Regions from separate parts of the Homo sapiens genome. Here all the other regions are linked to region 1. Evidence: promoter capture Hi-C in 16 types of primary human blood cells and fetal thymus (Javierre and others, 2016). All regions are on one chromosome and are shown on one strand. Each heading gives the region's core, a stretch centred on a gene start or on the middle of the fragment in contact. The rest is flanking DNA. Distances are from core to core; before and after follow the strand shown. Region 1 holds the start of TMEM106C (transmembrane protein 106C). Region 2 has its middle 17 kb from the start of ANP32D. Region 3 holds the start of ZNF641 (zinc finger protein 641).

Evidence for each region. Contacts are between HindIII fragments. The CHiCAGO score rates a contact against its expected background, and 5 or more counts as called.
Region 2: a fragment that was not itself captured here is called in contact with the fragment with the promoter of TMEM106C in region 1 in 1 of 17 cell types (M2 macrophages); the score reaches 7.2 in M2 macrophages.
Region 3: the fragment with the promoter of ZNF641 here is called in contact with the fragment with the promoter of TMEM106C in region 1 in 8 of 17 cell types (non-activated CD4 T cells, neutrophils, fetal thymus and 5 more); the score reaches 11.7 in non-activated CD4 T cells.

Annotation. Positions count from the first base shown.
Region 1 is chr12:47,961,891-47,965,669 of GRCh38, forward strand. TMEM106C (transmembrane protein 106C) reads left to right here and starts at 1,706. Exons shown (of 8, transcript NM_001143842.2): 1 at 1,706-1,814; 2 at 2,319-2,533; 3 at 3,392-3,455. The coding sequence starts at 2,347. The HindIII fragment of the contact is 3,638 bases long and covers 1-3,077 here.
Region 2 is chr12:48,453,442-48,457,220 of GRCh38, forward strand. It overlaps a transcript of C12orf54 not described here. Among named protein-coding and RNA genes, the nearest start is that of ANP32D, 17 kb to the right of the region's middle. The HindIII fragment of the contact is 1,315 bases long and covers 1,353-2,667 here.
Region 3 is chr12:48,348,890-48,352,668 of GRCh38, forward strand. ZNF641 (zinc finger protein 641) reads right to left here and starts at 2,030. Exons shown (of 6, transcript NM_001172681.2): 1 at 1,897-2,030. RefSeq lists enhancers at 1,541-1,610, 2,049-2,785 and silencers at 1,751-2,180, 2,461-2,540. The HindIII fragment of the contact is 6,093 bases long and covers 1-3,779 here.

The sequences.
Region 1 (3,779 bases), core at 456-2,955:
ATTAAAAAGTACCCTCTAGGCCGGGCACAGTGGCTCACGCCTGTAATCCCAGCACTTTGAGAGGCCAAGGTGGGCAGATCACCTGAGGTCAGGGGTTTGAGGCCAGCCTGGTCAACATGGTGAGACCCGGTCTCCACTAAAAATACAAAAATTAGCCAGGTGTGGAGGTGTGCGCCTGTAATCCCAGCTACTTGTGAGGCTGAGGCAGGAGAATCGCTTGAACCCGGGAGGCGGAGGTTGCAGTGAGCTGAGACTGTGCCACTGTACTCCAGCCTGGTCGACAGAGCAAGACTCCATCTCAAAACAAACGAACAAACAAACAAACGAACGAAAAGTGCTTTCTAACCTCTTACGTACGTGCCTTTTTTGTGGAGGTCTGGGGAAGGGGGGGCCCTACTACCGAATGAATCTACTCCTTGGTGCCTCTTGGCACCTAATTGGCTTGCAAAGCTCAGCTGTGGGGTCCGTTCCTGCGAGAAGCCAGCAGGACTCCCCATGGAAGGTTTCCCCCAGGCTGGGCCCCTCTGACTTGTGAGACTTCCAGCAGCACTTTTATCTACAGTATTGGAGGGGTCTGATGAAGCCTCTGGGTTCCCCTCCTGGACTGAAGACAGGTTCTGATATAATTGCCGGACGGGTTCTCCTTGCCCGTTGCCCAGAGCTGATTCATCAAGACAGGGGAATTGCAATGGAGATTTTAATTCATGCAGAGCCGGCTGAATGAGATACCAGAGTTTTATCACTCAAATAAGTCTCCCCGATAATTCAGAGACTGGGGTTTTTTAAGGATAATTCGGCTGGTAGGTATCAGGCAGTGGGGAGTGCTGATTGGTCAGGTTGGAGATGAAATCATAGGGGGGTCTAAGTGGGTTCTTCTTGCTGTTTTCTGTTCCTGGGTGGGATTGCAGAACTGGCTGAGCCAGATAACTGGTCTAGGTACTGCCAGCTGGTGCCTCAGAATGCAGGGTCTGAAAAATATCCCCAGCACCGATCTTAGATTTTACAATAGTGATGTTATCCCTTGGAGCAATAGGGAAGGTTTGGAATCTTGTGACCTCTGTCTGGATGACTCCTAAACCATAATTTCTAATCTTGTGGCTAATTTGTTAGTCTTACAAAGGCAGTCTGGTCCCCAGGCAAGAAGGGGGTTTGTTTTGGGGAAGGGCTGTTATCTTTGCTTCGAAGTTCAACTATAAACTAAATTCCTCCCAAAGTTAGTTTGGCCTATACCCAGGAATGAACAAGGGCAGTTCGGAGGTTAGAAGCAAGACGGAACTGGGTAAGTCAGATCTCTTTCACTGTCATAATTTTCTCACTTACAATTTTTGCAAAGGCAGTTTATCCGAATGCTCCGCATGTGTGTACCCTCAGCGACTACACAGCTCCTGTACTATAAAGAATATTTCAGAATGGCTTCGGTAGCCGGCAGCACCTTCCTCCTCTCGCAGCAGAGAAGTGTTTTGCTCTGGAAACTTGACTGGAGCCTTTCCCAGCCTATCTAGCGAACAGCAGAGCATCATCCCGACTCCGCGGACTACCGCGGCCCAACAGCAAGGGTCGCGGCTCCCCGGCGCTCTCTGCCGCCCTCTACCGGAACCGAGGGAGCCAGACAGCTGCGATATTGGGAAGGCCTCCGGAGCCGCGAAGAGCGCACGCGCGAGCGCGCGCCCGCGTTCTCCTGGCGGGCTTGGTATTTGGCGCCTGCGCGCTGAGTGCGTGCCGCTCCGCCGACCGAAGAGGCTGGTAAGTCCTCAAGCTGGCAGGTGGTCGGGGGAGCGGCCGGAGAGGAGCTGCCGGGAGTTCGTGCCCTGCAGGTCTGCGACGCTGGCGTTCGCTCCTGCCTGGGCCACTTTGGTGGGCTCAGAGCATCGCTTTTTGCCAAGGGGCGTGACCTGAGCCCGCCTCCTGGGGCTGGGGGGTGGAGAGGAATGGGAATCGTTAAGGCCGGTTATCAATTTGGTGCCTGTTTGTTGCTCGAGGAGGGGCATAGAGCTTACAAATAGTGAAGAGGAAGGGGCGAGGCTGGACCAGGTGGGAGCGGGGGTGCCCCAAGTCCCAGGGCGGTGAGGATCGAGGCAGGTGCGTGAAAGGCAGGCCCCGTTCCCCCTCCCCACCCCCGCCGGCTGTGTGTGGCGGGTAAGAGGAGAGTGGGTAGCACTACTACAAAATGAGGGTCCCGATAGAAATCGTACAGGTGTTGGGACCACACTCAGGGCGGCAACTTGTCATTTTTGCGTTTTTAATTTTCTTATAGAAACAAGCGATTTCTGTCGTGATTCACTGGGGCCGCTAACGTGCACTCCCTCTTTTCATCTTAGGACATGACACCAGTGGCATATCACGGCCATGGGGTCTCAGCATTCCGCTGCTGCTCGCCCCTCCTCCTGCAGGCGAAAGCAAGAAGATGACAGGGACGGTTTGCTGGCTGAACGAGAGCAGGAAGAAGCCATTGCTCAGTTCCCATATGTGGAATTCACCGGGAGAGATAGCATCACCTGTCTCACGTGCCAGGGGACAGGCTACATTCCAACAGGTGATCATGGAGGGATGATTCCCTGATGAGAATCCCAAGGTACCCTCGGAGTTCTCCTGTCTGCCCAGACAACTTTTCTTCTAGGCAGTAATACCATAATAGAGACAGTGCCCTGGACAGGAGCCAGCTCAACTGACTTAATACACTTGGGCAGTTCTGCAACTTCTCTTCCTCTCCTTATTTTTCCAACCCTTTCTTTTCTTTACCGCCACTCTTGTTCTTTTCCTGAGGTTTGGAACATTCAGTTCGCTCTGTGTTGTGGGATTTGTTGACAGGCACATTTCTTTATCGCTGTCACAAGGATTGGGACAGCTTTGCGGGGGAACCATCTTGGAAGCTGCTTTTCAAGGAAATGGGTAGCTAATCCTTAACAGCCTAAGGTCAGAAAAATATATCAGGTCAAGAGAGAGAGACAAATACTTAGCCTTGGTACAGGATCATCTATTACTATTAACAAATTGGCCCTCAGAAAGTCTTTAACAGTTTAGCTGGAGAGTCACAGAAATTTAGAGCTGGTTAGGACCTTCAAAATCATTTACTCCAAAGCTTCCATATGAAAGGCAAGGAAACCATGGCCTTGAGAGATTCGACGACTCTGCCAAGCCCATGCAGTAAAGCCAGAACAGGATCCCAGGTTTTTCAACTTCCACATCACTACCCTGGCAGCACTGATAGATGTTTTATAATTTGTGGCACTCTCTTGTTTCTTGTTCATTAGACCCAACATGTGAATTTCACTAGTATTTTTTAAAATGTCTCATTCCAGAAGAATATTTGTTGTGGCAGGCTCAAGTGAGACGTGAAGGAAGTACTGCCAACACATGGGATTTACAAAATAATTGTTTGGCTCTTTTCTAGAGCAAGTAAATGAGTTGGTGGCTTTGATCCCACACAGTGATCAGAGATTGCGCCCTCAGCGAACGTGAGTTACCTGCTTCTCACCTGTTAATACCTACTTCTGTCCCTAATCTCTTTCTGTATGTATGAATGCCAGTTAATTCTTTGAAAACTACACATGTTCTTATAAGTTCCCCATTTTCCTTATAACTGTTTGCCCAAGCAAGATATCTCTGCCCCCATCACAATCTGGGGAAAGAAACTTGAAGCTGGAAATGCTTTGAAGGTCAAGGAATGGAATCAGAAGAAACTGGGAAAGTGGAGTGTTCTGGGAGGTGTGGGACTGTCTCTGTCCACATAGCTCCTTTCTTCAGCTTTTCTTCCCAGAGTGCAAACAGTGTTTAAAGGA
Region 2 (3,779 bases), core at 760-3,259, 490 kb after region 1:
AGTGTTTACCTATGCAACAAACCTGCACATCCTGCACATGTATCCCTGAACTTAAAGTAAAAGTTGGAAATAAATAAATGTGTATATATATACACATACATATATATACACATATATATACATATATATACACATATACACATATATATGTGTATATTCATGTTCTGATATTCAAAGAAACTAATTTGCCCAGTGCCTCACAGCTAGAAATTTAAAGATAATGAAGAGCCAGGATTTATCCTCAAGTTTATTTAAACCTAAGGTATCTTTTAAAGAATAAAACAAAATATTTTGCACATTGCCTGTATCAAACACACACACACAATATATATGAAACATATAAGCATAATATCATATATCTATATTCATCTATCTACCTACCTATCCATATCCATATACATGTAATCGTTCACAGCTCATTTATTCTGACCTTGAGAAAACAAAGAAGGTGATATTTTACTTCTCAACCAAACTGAAAAAAGAAGTGCCTTCTTTTGATTTAGATTCATTGTACTTGAAGCCTTCTGTAACTTTGGAGCATCAGGATACCATGAGGTCAGGGAACTCCTGTTATTGTTGAAAAATAAATCAGGGGCTCTAAATTATAGGAAGGAAAATCAAGACAGTTCTCTCTCTCTCTCTCTTTTTTTGTTTGTTTTTTTTTTTTTTTTTTTTGAGACGGAGTCTCACTCTGTTGCCAGGCTGGCGAGAAGTCGTGCGATCTCAGCTCACTGCAACCTCTGCCTCCTGGGTTCAAGTGATTCTCCTGCCTCAGCCTCCTAAGTAGCTGGGACTACAGGCATACACCACCACATCCAGTTAATTTTTTTTGTATTTTTACTAGAGACAGGGTTTCACCATGTTGGCCAGGATAGTCTCCATCTCCTGACGTCGTGATCTGCCCACCTCGGCCTCCCAAAGTGCTGGGATTACAGACTTGAGCCACCGCACCCGGCCAAGACTGTTCTTTAATTCGATTAATCAGATTGGACAGGCTGCATAGTCATTTTTACCTGACATAGAAAAAAGATGAAGACTATCACAAACTGCAGGCAGATTAGAAAGGCCTAGGAGATGTGGGGTTTGCCTGAGCAGGTCTGATTGCTAAGAATAAAGCCTGTGGCCTGCTTTCTGTCCTCCTGCCCCTTCTTCTCTATCTCTTTCCTTCTTTATTTAATGCAGCCTCAGAGGAAAGTTATGCAGCATAAAATAAGTGTTAAAAGAAAAATGCAAAATTATACTTTGACTCTCTTTTTAAGATTGAAATTATTTCTTTGTAACATAAATTCCAAGTATCATATTTTACAAATACTGTTGGGTAACTATAGTAACTTAGTAAATGAAATATGCAAAGCTTAAGGTTGTAAGTCTAGGGAAGGCATTAGAATAAATATGCCAGCATCTTCAGACCTTACAGCTAGGACACTACTGCTTCCTTGTGGCTCAACTTTAGAATGACAAGTTTTGACTACTGCAAGTTTCTTCAAATCATAGGGGCTTCCTTTTGGGTTTGTTTTTCCTTCCAACTTTTAGGTTCAGAGGGTACCTGTGCAGGTTTGTTATGTGGGTAAATTGCGTGTCACTGGAGTTTGGTGTACAAATGATTTCATCATCCAGGTAGTGAGCATAGTACCAGACAGGCAGTTTTTCAATCCCATCCTCCAACCTCAAGTAGGCCCCAGTGTCTATTGTTCTCCTCTTTGTGTCCCTGTGTACTCAATGTTTACCTCCCACTTATAAATAAGAACATGCACGATTTGGTTTTCTGTTCCTGTATTAGTTCATTTAGGATAATGGCCACCAGCTGCATCCATGTTGCTCCAAAAGCCATGATTTTATTCTTTTTGATGGCAGCATAGTATTCTATGGTGTATATATACCACATTTTCTTTTTCCAGTCCACTGTTAATGGGCATCTAGGTTGATTCCATGTCTTTGCTATTGTGAAAAGCGCTGTGATGAACATATGCATACATATGTCTTTATGGTCAAATCAGAGTTTTGACTGCCAATTTTAAGCAGCTCACCAAACCCATGGCTTGGGATGCAGACAGAGTTGTTACAGATCTCAGAGAAACGTCAGCAGAACAGCAGTCTTTGTCAGAGACACAACCATATTCAGCCAAGTTTTTCTTTCAGATCTTCCAGGTTTTGGAGCAGAGAGGCTGAAGAAAAGATTTAAATAACAAGAAAACCTGGAGTTGAGCAGCACCTAAAGATCAGTGAGCAGCTCCAACATGATTGTACAGAAGAGCTAACAGGCACTGGAAGTCTAGAGAACAGGCAGAGATACCCCCTGCACTGTGTAAAATTATGAAAAATGTATCCATGAGGTAAGATTTGATACATACACATAAATGATCAAAATCTGTCCTTCATTGTCTGTTTGACAGTGAATAAGTTTCTTCGCCTTCTATTACTCAGTTGCCTTATTTATAGAACACTAACAATCATAGTAACTACTCAGTGAATTTTCACAATGGTTAAATAGTGATAATAATTAAAAAATAACGTGATTGAATCCTTACCATGTGCCATACGCTATTTTAAGTGTTTTACACTGATTATCTCATTTCTTCTCACAAAAAGTATAAGAGCATATAAAGCTCTTAGCTAATATTATGTCAGTAGTTTGTACTCAATAAATTATCATTTAAAAGTCTGTAAAGCTTTCTCTATATCTCAACGAAGTAGGGAAAACACATTTTTTAAGCAGCTCAGCCAACAACAATTGTTTTCCAGGCACTGTATTGGGCCCTGGGTATATAAAGACGAGTAGGAGAGAGTCTCTGCCTTTAAGACACTCACACTGTAATGAGGAATAAAGTTATACTGACAGCTGTAATGCAGTATAGTAAGTTATACTCTACCAGTGTGACAAGATTGCTATGGGAGTTCAGAGGAGGAAAAATTCAAGCTGTATCAAGTGGTCAGGGAAATAGTTACAGGAAAGATACCATTTGACCCTGCCTTATCTAGAGAAGCAAGTCTTAGAACGAGGAGTGGCAGAAGTCTTCCCGGCAGAGGAACCAGTTTAGTAAAGGAAGAGAGATGTGAACAGGTAGCATTTGAGATTAAGATCATGGACTCTGGAGCCAAAGAGGGTTAAATTTGAATCCCAACTCTGCTCCTCGCCTGCCGTGACCTTGGGAAAGCTATTTCTCTTTGTTTCTTTGCCTGGAAAATGGCTTTGACAATTGTTCTCCATGTTAGGTTGGTTGTGAGGATGAAATGAGATGTTCACATAACATTTAGCATATTGTCTAGCCCATTAGTGCTGTGTTATTATTAATATATTTCCCTCTGTCTAGGTTCTCATCAGTTGAAAAAACTGAACTATCTGTTAATTATCAGCTTTTTTCTTCTTTGGCAAGCAGAATAAACCACATTAAATGCACACATCAATTGTAAGAAGCAGCTGAATCTCAGAAACACCAAAGTACGAAAAGTGTGCATCTTCAAATCAAGGAAAGCATATTATCACCATTATGAGGACCAGTCTGCCAAGAATCTTTCATAGGATGCTGAATATTTAGATGTGATCCTACTGTTAAAATCTTTCCTTTCTTGGTGGTTTCTAGATACTTTGTAGCTCCTAAATCATGCATTAAGTTTAGTGTGTAGTTACTTGTGTCTGTCTCCCCTATTAATATGTGGTCTCTGTGTAATATGTCCCCAGCACATCGTGGGTAATCCATAGACTATGAAATTAAATGGAATCAGACCAAGCTGGGGGTGGTATAGAGTGAGAGGTGACCGTAGGGCCCCAGGCCCGAACT
Region 3 (3,779 bases), core at 780-3,279, 390 kb after region 1:
CATGACCCAGAAGAACAAACCTGTTTATTTGTCAGGCACCAGTCAGATCTCATTAGAAAAATATATTCAGTTTGAAAGAAGCGTATGGTGAAGCCAGTGTGTGTTCATCAGAAAACATCAAAGTCAAGAAAGGGATTGGAAATACAGCCACTGGGAAAGTTAAAAATGTCGGATGTAGTTTTCTCTGTCTGGAGAAGAAGGCTGATGAATGATGCTACTAATGAATAAAAACAGAGGTCCCTTCTATCTCTATATAGGTCAAACAGAAAAAAATGGGTCTTGATTGCAAGAGAAGAGATTTAGGTTATTTTTTTTTAATTCTTAATAATCCTGCAGTGTACAATACCAGATAGTGGGCTCTTCTTTTTCTTTAGACAACTTAAGAGCAGGATGGGTCACACTTCTGTTGTGATAGGGCTTTATGGCAGAGAAATAATCTGAGACTCAGAATCTCTTTCTGTTTGGCAACATATTTTGGGTATTCTTATTCAATATCCAAACAGTCAGAGTCAGTGAAAGGCTTCCAAGAGCAGTCAGAAACTTGGTAACTATCCTGGCTTACTTACATCCTTTCAATAACACTTGCAAGAACCTTGAAGGCCAGGGTAGGTAATCACAGATGTCAAGTCGTCTATTTTCTTGCCTATTTGTCTTTGACAAAAGAGGTAGGTGGGAACCCTAAGCCCAATGCACAGGAAAAACAAATTCCCTTTTTATCTCAGAAGTCCAAAGATGGCTCAGGGCCTCATGGGAGCACCCTGGACTGATTCCCAGCCTAGGAGGTTTCCTTTTCAGAGACTTTTCATGAGAAAGGAAAATTCTTGCTAAAGCAATAAAGGGAAACTTCCATTTTAGCTCTCTTCTCTGAATTCCAGCTCTGTATCCACTTTTAACACACAGGGCACTAATTCTCCCTCTTCGTCCCATCTTTCTGGTTCTCTAGCTCCTGTGCAAATCCTCCCTGAAGGCTTTACCTCTAGCTACATATCTGGACACTTGTCTCAAACCCTTTCTCCATCTCCCCCAGGTAGCAGAGTCTCTTAATGGGAAGCCTCTTTGTGCAGAGCCCATTGGGCCAGCTGTAAGTTTTTCTATACCACTGACAGAAATCCGTGGAAGTGCTAGCAAAAATCTCAGCAAAGGATGGGATGGGTACCTGTCCTCAGCTTGCATTTCCTAAGATATTCACGCAGAGCCAGCACCTGGGCGGTTAAGGTGGTAGCCCTAACCTCGTTTCTCCTGGTTCCAGGATGATCCCATGCCCACTGCAGTGTGGGTTCTAGGGCTTTCATTTCCCCCTTTTCTTCACACATATGGGTAGCAAGGGACCTGCAAAAGGAAGTTTCTGCAGCCAGTGCTGATGAACAGAAAAGGGGCCATGTTATAAAAATGAGTAGCCCAAGGGCACACGGACGAGTTGGCTCCGTCCATCAGAGAACCCTGGCCCCTGCCACGGGTAGGGCATGGGCGGGACGGGAGCCTGCTCAGGGGTAAGGTTGCTTCTTCCCTTCTTCTTGTCACAGTGCCCCTGGAAAGGGTCAGATTTCAGAGAATCCGAGCAAGGCAGAACTGGAGCAGGGGAAGTGAGGTCAGAAAACAGGTTTCCCATGAGCTGGGGCATGAGCAAGTGAAGAGAAAGGGAGCCACGGGGTAACCTGTGCGCGAGTGACAGCGGCGGGAGCCCGCAGGGCCTGACAGTTGCGATGGGCACGGGGAGACAGGGCGAGAGGCGGGCACAGAATGTCAGCGGGGCAGACCCCCGGGAAAGGCAGCAACCCGGAAGACGCGCCGATCCTCCTCCCAGCCCCTATGGGTGACCGAGCCCCCACCAGCCGCCCCGGGAAGCCAGGCGTCCCTCCCTCCAGCCGCAGCTCCCTCCGGCCCGGCTCCACTCACCCCCGGTAGGCTTGGCCCGCGGCCCGGTGCCTCCCTCCCGGGCGCCGCCTGCCCCTCCCCTCCGCCCTCCGCTTGCGTCTGGGAGCCGGCGGCCGGCGGAGCCAGCGACAGGCGGAGACGGCGGCCCGGCAGGCGCGGGCGGGGCGGGGCGGGCACAGGAAATCCCCGCCCGCTTCCGGGGCTCTGCGGCGGCGGAGGTGCGGGGAGTGGGAGGGAGAGGAGTGGGAGGGAGAGGAGTGGGAGGGAGGGAGGGAGGGAGGGACGGGAGGGGGCGGGGCTGCGGCTCAGGCGCCCCCAAACGCGAACCCGGGACCTCCGCGCCCGCCGCTGTGGGGAGGGTGCGGCCCGAGACGCTTGGAGGGCGGCGGGCGCCGGAATCGCAGCCTGCTGTGGCCACTTGCCCGCACTCTTGCCTGACTGACCATTTTCCGCTCTGGCTACTGGGCCTCCCACGGAGTTCTGTCCTCAGGGTTCGTCAATTACCTGGAATTGCGTAACCGCCCGTTACAGGCCAGACCGAGGCCGAGAGCGATTTCTCCAGACAACAGTCTGGAATTCCTCAAGGAGCGTACCCTCTAGTTTTCACGATAGGATAAAGGGCTTGAGAGAGCACTGAGGAGGAGTCACTTATTCTGCCTGAGGGGAAGTCAGGTTGCTATCTGAAGTTGGCCTTGCGGCTGCTGTCCCATTTGCGGGAGCCGTAGCCGCAGGTGACACCTGAGCTCTCGAAATGTGGCTGGTCTGAATAGAGATGTGTTCCAAGATTTAGAAGATTTAATTTAAAAAGTGATATTTTGGGTATATTGGGTTAAATATATTAAAATTAATTTCACCTGGTTTTAACTTTTTAAATGTGGCTATAAATATGGCTTGCATTATATTTCTATTGGATAGTGCTACCTTGCAGCATTAAGATGGATTTGACTAGAAAAGATGAGAAGGGCCTACAAACAGTGAGTAAACCCATTGCTGTTAGAATCTGTTTATAACCTACAAGTCACATTCACATTCCTTATTTCATCATTACAACAATTTTCAAAAATTTTATTTAGTAGACTTAAAAAATAATTGACTCACTTAAGGTCATATGTGACAATCATTCGTTTAATGCATATTTATTTTCTACGTGTGCCAGACACTGTAACTAAATGCTGGGAGTTAAAGGATTCACAGTCTGGGGAAGCACATGTCAACAAATATTTGCAATAAAAACGTAGATTCTAAAACAGAGGAACGTACGCTGCACTTGAAGCAAAGAGAAGTGACCACGTATGGGACGGAGGTCAGAGAAGGCCCCCCACTCTGACAGAAATCGTGAGGCAGAGAAGAGTCAGGAGGGCTGTCTAATGAAAGAGGAAAATGCAGTAGACACGCAGTTGGGAAGAGTATAGAGCATATTCTAGGAGCAGATCATGGGATATGTCGGGGTAGTAGTAGAGCCAGAATTTTTATCCCGGGTCCTGGAACTAAGTCCAGGGGTTCTTTTCACTTATGCTACCACTGGTGGTAAATATAAGGTGCGTTAATTGGAGTAGGCTAGCAAAACCAGTATCTCGGGGCTTAACTCCATAAAGGCTTATGTTCATACAAGTCACAGTGTGGTAACAAGTTGGTTGGGGCCAGAGGGTGGGGTCTGTACTTCTTGAATTCATTGAAGGACCAGGCTTCTTGCATTTGGTGGTTCTCCCATGCCGAGGCCTTGGTAATGTAGTCAAATCTGTGGCCCTCAGATAAGGGAGGCTGGCCGTGGTTAACTTGTCAGAGATATTAGGGGCCAGTCCTGGAAGTGGTGTGTATCATTTTCACCCCATTCCCTTAGCCAGAACTCATGCGCATGGTCACATGGCCCTACCCAGAAGGGTGGCTGGGAAGTAAAGAATGTG